2 separate regions of the Homo sapiens genome follow, and region 2 is linked to region 1. The links are contacts of gene promoters, found by promoter capture Hi-C in blood cells and fetal thymus (Javierre and others, 2016). All regions are on one chromosome and are shown on one strand. Each heading gives the region's core, a stretch centred on a gene start or on the middle of the fragment in contact. The rest is flanking DNA. Distances are from core to core; before and after follow the strand shown. Region 1 holds the start of GDI1 (GDP dissociation inhibitor 1). Region 2 overlaps FLNA (filamin A).

Region 1 (3,175 bases), core at 676-3,175:
CCCCAGCCTCCCCAGCTCACCTGACATCCCTGCCACCTTCCCCAGGTTCATTCTGGCCAACCGCCTCTACCCAGTGTCTGCCCGGCACTGGTTTACCATGGAGCGCCTCGAAGTCCACAGCAATGGCTCCGTCGCCTACTTCAATGCTTCCCAGGTCACAGGGCCCAGCATCTACTCCTTCCACTGCGAGTATGTCAGCAGCCTGAGCAAGAAGGGTAGTCTCCTCGTGGCCCGCACGCAGCCCTCTCCCTGGCAGATGATGCTTCAGGACTTCCAGGTATGGAGCGGGCGTGGCCCAGCTTCAGGTGGGGGAGCCCAGGCTAGTGGTTGAGAGACGAAGAGAGGCTTGGGCTTGGGCATGTAGTTGAGAGTCCTGTCCCTGCGCTGCCCCTGTCCCAGTTCTTGCTGGGCCTCCCAACGGTCCTTTCTGACCCGTGTCTGTGTGTCTGCCAGATCCAGGCTTTCAACGTAATGGGGGAGCAGTTCTCCTACGCCAGCGACTGTGCCAGCTTCTTCTCCCCCGGCATCTGGATGGGGCTGCTCACCTCCCTGTTCATGCTCTTCATCTTCACCTATGGCCTGCACATGATCCTCAGCCTCAAGACCATGGATCGCTTTGATGACCACAAGGGCCCCACTATTTCTTTGACCCAGATTGTGTGACCCTGTGCCAGTGGGGGGGTTGAGGGTGGGACGGTGTCCGTGTTGTTGCTTTCCCACCCTGCAGCGCACTGGACTGAAGAGCTTCCCTCTTCCTACTGCAGCATGAACTGCAAGCTCCCCTCAGCCCATCTTGCTCCCTCTTCAGCCCGCTGAGGAGCTTTCTTGGGCTGCCCCCATCTCTCCCAACAAGGTGTACATATTCTGCGTAGATGCTAGACCAACCAGCTTCCCAGGGTTCGTCGCTGTGAGGCGTAAGGGACATGAATTCTAGGGTCTCCTTTCTCCTTATTTATTCTTGTGGCTACATCATCCCTGGCTGTGGATAGTGCTTTTGTGTAGCAAATGCTCCCTCCTTAAGGTTATAGGGCTCCCTGAGTTTGGGAGTGTGGAAGTACTACTTAACTGTCTGTCCTGCTTGGCTGTCGTTATCGTTTTCTGGTGATGTTGTGCTAACAATAAGAAGTACACGGGTTTATTTCTGTGGCCTGAGAAGGAAGGGACCTCCACGACAGGTGGGCTGGGTGCGATCGCCGGCTGTTTGGCATGTTCCCACCGGGAGTGCCGGGCAGGAGCATGGGGTGCTTGGTTGTTTCCTTCCTAATAAAATAAACGCGGGTCGCCATGCGTTGGGCCTCTTGTCGCTCATTTCTGCGCTGGGCTTTAGGCGCGTGCTCGCCGGAGGGATGCGGGAGGATGGAGCCTGGCGAGGGGGAGGCGAAGAGGCATCCGCGGAGACCGGGAGGGGCTTTAGCAAGCTGGGCCCTAACCGCTCAGGGTAGGGAGGGGCGGTCGGGCCGAGTCCCGGTGCGCTTCGGCGTCTCAGGAGGCCGTCGTGACAATGGCAGCCTTCGCGTCGTGAGGGGGCCGCCCCAGGCTGCCGCAGCGGCGCGCGCCCGGCCGCGGGGCCGCGCCGAGACTCCCGGGGGGGTGGGCGGGGGTGGGGAGGTGGGCGGGCGCGCGCGGGGCGGGGCGGGGCGGGGCGCGGCGGGTGGGGCGGGGCGCGCGCGGCTCCCGCGCACGGATTCTTCCTGGGCCGCAGCACCGGCCGCCGGCCCGCCCCGCCCGCCCCGCCCCGCGCCTCTCTAGACTCTCGGCGAGCAGCGTCGCCCGCGGAGCCGCGCTGGTGCTGTGGCCCGGGCCCTGGCAGCCCTCCCGGGAGGCGAGCCGGGGAGGCGGTGGCCCCTGCCGGTTGCGGCGGGGCGCGGGAAGAGGCGGGACTCTTTGACGCGGCGGAGGGGTCGGGCGACGGCCGACGCGCCGCCATCTTTGGTCCAGTGCGGTGGCGGCGGCGGCGGTGGCGGCGGCGACTGCTGCGGTGAAGGAGGAGGAGGAGCCGAGCGGGCGCTGGCACCGAGGCCTGACCATGGACGAGGAATACGATGTGATCGTGCTGGGGACCGGTCTCACCGTAAGTGCGGCCCCGGCGCCCCTGGCCCTGCGTCGTGCCCTCGCCATCCCCCGCGATGATGCGGCCGCCGGCCCATCCTCTGGTCACTGCCATCTTCTGCGCTCCGCTCCCCGAAAAGCCGGCGCCGTGCCCACCCCGCTGCTCCCCCAGCGACGTCGCCTCTGCTCGTTGCCATGACCCCATCTCCCCGAAGAGGCCCCCTTCCTGGCCGCCTCCTGGGCTACCCGGGTCCGACCCCCGGCGCCCTCCCATCTTCCCTACCCCTGCCCGCTGGACCGGAAAACGCACCCCCACTCGGCCCGATGCCCACGACCCCGCCCACCCATCGCCCCCACCCATCACGGCATCCACCCGTCGCCCGCACCCATTGCCCGCCTAGCGTTGCCTCTCAGCGTCCGTTCCCATCTTGCGCTAATCCCGGTGGGGATGAAGTAGAAGGACCTGGGGTCAGGGGGCCTCGCCAGAGTGGGCCCTCAGCCCGCCTCCTCATCGTCTTCTGGGGCCAGGGGATCCAGGGAATGTTCCAGAAGGAACAGCAGTGGGGGCAGTAAGCACATTCCCGCAACCCCACCTCGGTTGCCCATGGAGACCTCAGGCTGGGTAGCATCTGCAGCCTTTGTCCTTGGGCTAGTGACAGTGACTGGTGAGGGTGTTTATCTTCCCCCTTTCCCCGAAAACCCCGTTGGCCTACTCCCCTCAGAGACTCTTCTTCCTCGGTCCAGGCCCAGATGCCCCTCCTCAGCGGCAGGGGCTCCTGCTATTTGAAGAAAGAGCAGTCCAGGGTGGGGCCTACAATTTCAAGGACTGTGCTAAGCCTTTCTTTTCCTCCCTTTCGAGTGTCCTTTGCAGTCCAGCTGGGTCTTCTCTGTGCCTTATTGTGTTTTATCCGCCTTTTTGTGCGGCTCTGCGTAGGTAGATGCCTCTCGGCGTGTTGGTACTGGAAGGCCATCCTGTGTCTGCTGGATGCCCTGCCTCCCTCAAAGCCTCCGTTATTTCACTCTCCGCCTTGTGAGGGGGACGGGACTCCTTTGCCCAGCAAGGTTGCAATGGAGAGTGTGGTCGGATGAAGCCATCACCCCAATTTTAGGCGAGGCAACTAGCCAG
Region 2 (3,311 bases), core at 812-3,311, 80 kb before region 1:
TCACCGTCTCCTCCCCAATCTGAATGGTGGGGCCGATGCCAGCACCTGGTGGGGCAGGGTGGGTCCCCAAAGGGGGGCCAGCGTGTGAGCTCGGGTTCAGGTTGTTCCCGTCCGCCTGCCGCCCACACAGGCCTCTCATTGCCACCACCAAGCACAGCCAGGCCGCCAGGCCTCCTGCCCCGCCCTGCCCCTCCAAGCTGGGATGGCGAGTGGTTTCTCAGAAGGCAGGAAGGTTTCTCCTGACCACCTCAAGTGCCCATGTGGGAGAGGCCCGACAGTAGCACCCAGGTGCCTGGGAGGAAAAGGAAGGGCCCACTCCAGCCTAAGTGTTGACAGCCACTCCCTTGCCTACTCAGCCTCGTCCAGCACCATGGCCCACACTGCTGAACGCCAGCATCTGGCTGGGCACACGGCTGCCTGCGCCCTTCTGGCCTGGCCCCGGCCCCCATTGCTGTGTGTGGACGCGGTGAGGCGGAGTCCTGCTGCAGCGTGGGGGGATGTGACACTTGCCTCCCCACCCCCCAGGCCTGATGGTGAAACCGGAGTTTCCTGACAACTGAGAAGGCTCGCGGTGAAAAGCAGCCCGGTGCAGACAGGAGTGGGAGCGGGGAAGCGGGAGGCAGCGGGGTTAGCACCCGAGTAGCGCAGCGCAGCAGGCTTGGCAGAGCGGGGATAGCACCCAGGGAGACAGGGAACAGGAGGCCCAAGCTACAGCCACCACTGCTGGGTTGCGAGGGCAGAGCAGCTGAGCAGGCTCCAGGGCCCCAGAGTGCCCGAGGAAAGGGGAGAGACAGTGACGTTATGATCTGGGTCTCCGCCGTGGAGGCTTGGGGGGCTGTGGGCTGTGAGGCCTGGCAGTGAGAGTGCCCCCTGCAGCCTGGCCTCCTGCCAGGGAAGCAGCCAGGAGCACGAAACCTACTTGAAGGCCAAGCTCGAGGGGCCCTGCCACCAAGTCCCACTATCGGCCGAGGGCTCCTGCTGCACTAGGCTCCATGCTGGCCTGCCGCGGCCAGGCAGCTCTCCCAGGCTCCAGACCTGGCTGCCGGCTGCCCACGCTGCCCTGGGAGGCTTCACTCATGTGCACCCCATGCCATCTAGTTAGTGGCTTGGGCCCCAACCTCACAGGTACCCGACTGCCCCCACTTTCCCTGCCCGGCTCCCAGCCAACCGCAGGTCTCAGCCACTCCATCCTCAAAGTATGCCTCCTAATTTGGCTCTCACTGAAGCCCCGTGGCCGTCAAGCTTGCCAGAGAGCAACTTCAGCGCCCCCTTCCCCACCCCGGGCTCCCTGTCTCCATTCTGCAAACAGTAGCCAGGGAAACTGAGGTTACTGAGTCTTGCTCCCACCCTCAAAGCCCCCAAGGCCCTGCAATCAGTACTCCCCAGCCTCCCCCGCCCTGCGCACACACGCCTGTCACACACACATCGGATCCTACGGCCTGCTCTATAAAGCCATCTCGCTCCTGCCGCAAAACTCTAGCCACCCTCTCACCCTTTCCTTAGCCACCTCGCCCAAGTGCCAGGCCTGTAGCCTCTCATCAGCATCCCTGGGTGTCCCTGGCTGGGGCAGGTGACCCTCCATGCCTGTTGGGGAATGTCTGAATAACGTCACTGCTGGGGGATAGGGGAAGGGGGAAGGAGGGAGACGGGCCACAGAATGCACTTTGGGGCTCTGAGGCTGGGCCGGGCCCCGCCATGCTGGCCGCCCAAGCAGTCGACACTGGCGCTACTGCACTACCAGCCAGCCCCACCCGCTCATGCACCTCCCCCGGCCCGGGACGCAGAGGCCCCTGGAAGGTGGGGATGGGGGTCTGTGGATCTGGCCAGGGCTGGGGCTCCCATTGAGTTGGGGAGACCCCTTGTTCCCTCAGCCCACGCAGGAGCCCTTGTGCCTCCCTGGGTGCCAAGATCCCGAGACCCCAAAGTCCCCAGTGGGGTGCCTCTCAGGATGCACCTCACCCCAAAGCTCTCAGCTGCAACCCGAGTTCTCAGATGGGGAAATAAAGGCCCAGAGAGGGGAAGAGCTGGAGCGGTCATGCTCAGCTCCGGAAGCCTCCCTGGGCCCTCGCCCTCCAGCCCACGGCCTCATCTTCTGCACCCCACCCAACTCTGTCCCTGCCTAGAGCTGCAGCTGGAACTGTCCTGGGAATCGGCCCCAAGAGGAAAGGAAGCTGCCCCTCTGGGCAGGAGGGGCATTGGGAGTGGCCCCAGCAAGCAGCTTACCTAGCCCGTGACCTCCGATTGACACTGAGGTGAGAGGGCAGAGAGCAAGGAGAAAGGTCAGGTGAGTCACTCAAGGGGGCGGCCCCCACTCCCACACGCCGCCCCAAGCAGCGAGCCCTTGCACACAGGCACAACCCAAGCCCCGTGCCGAGCGCCGCAGCGGCCAACAGCGGGCGGGCTCACCTGTGACAGTGCACTTGCTGGCGTCCCCGGTGGGCACGGCACGCACGCGGTACGGGGAGAAGGGGATCTCGTCACCACCGTACTTGATGAGGATGGTGTAGCGACCTGTCACGTCTGGCACGTAGGCCACTGTATACGTGCCGTCATGGTTGTCTTGGATGTGTGTCTTCTTCGGCTTGCCTTCGGGATCCTGTGTGGCAGAGGCAGGGGAGGCAGTTGGCCCAAGCCCGAGTAGCCCCGGGCCTGCCTCAGGCGCTCCCAGAGTGCCCAGCGCTGCTGCTACAGGGACAGTCTCTGGGCCTCAGGCATCTTAACTGCTATGGCCCAAAAGGGCTGCCTGCACCTGGCAGAGTCCAGAATGGAGACTAAAACATCCCACACTTCCCACATGACAACAGGCGCGGCCAGCCAGCTTGGCACCCATCCTCAGCCCCAGGGCCTGGCCAGCACTAGGAGGAGCTCACCGGGGTGATCTCAAGCTTCTATCCTATACCTGCCCCATGAGAATATTACAGGTGGGGAAACTGAGGCACAGAAGGCTTTGGTGACGTGCTCAAAGTTAGCAGCAAGTGCACGTCTGGGGAAGCCTGTGCCTGTCACCACCATCCTAAGGTAGTCACAACCTTAGCAAACCAAAGACAGGGGCCCTGTCCTTCCCTGCCCTCCTTGGTGCAGCTCCGCAGGGAGATCAGACACCAGCCACCCGCAGCCCACACTCCAGCCGCCCAGGCCCCCCTGCCTCCCCTGCCTGTGCCCGGAGCTCACCGTGATCTGGACAGCCAGCAGGCCCTCCCCGGCGTCCTTTGCATCGATGGTGAACTCCACGGGCAGGCTGGCAGGCACGCCAGTGGTGTTGAGCCCGGGGCCACTGGCCTTCACCTTGCTGGCATCATGAGTAGGCAGCA

What was found. The method cuts DNA at HindIII sites, captures the fragments that hold promoters and counts their contacts. A CHiCAGO score of 5 or more calls a contact.
Region 2: a contact is called between a fragment that was not itself captured here and the fragment with the promoter of GDI1 in region 1, in 2 of 17 cell types (monocytes and activated CD4 T cells). The highest score is 8.3, in monocytes.

What each region holds. Positions count from the first base shown.
Region 1 is chrX:154,435,229-154,438,403 of GRCh38, forward strand. GDI1 (GDP dissociation inhibitor 1) reads left to right here and starts at 1,926. Exons shown (of 11, transcript NM_001493.3): 1 at 1,926-2,071. The coding sequence starts at 2,027. ATP6AP1 (ATPase H+ transporting accessory protein 1) reads left to right here. Exons shown (of 10, transcript NM_001183.6): 9 at 46-277; 10 at 454-1,288. The coding sequence ends at 663. RefSeq lists an enhancer at 1,458-1,958. The HindIII fragment of the contact is 14,364 bases long and covers 1-3,175 here.
Region 2 is chrX:154,355,028-154,358,338 of GRCh38, forward strand. FLNA (filamin A) reads right to left here. Exons shown (of 48, transcript NM_001110556.2): 28 at 3,172-3,311; 29 at 2,407-2,596; 30 at 2,224-2,247; 31 at 1-45. Among named protein-coding and RNA genes, the nearest start is that of FLNA, 18 kb to the right of the region's middle. The HindIII fragment of the contact is 1,643 bases long and covers 1,241-2,883 here.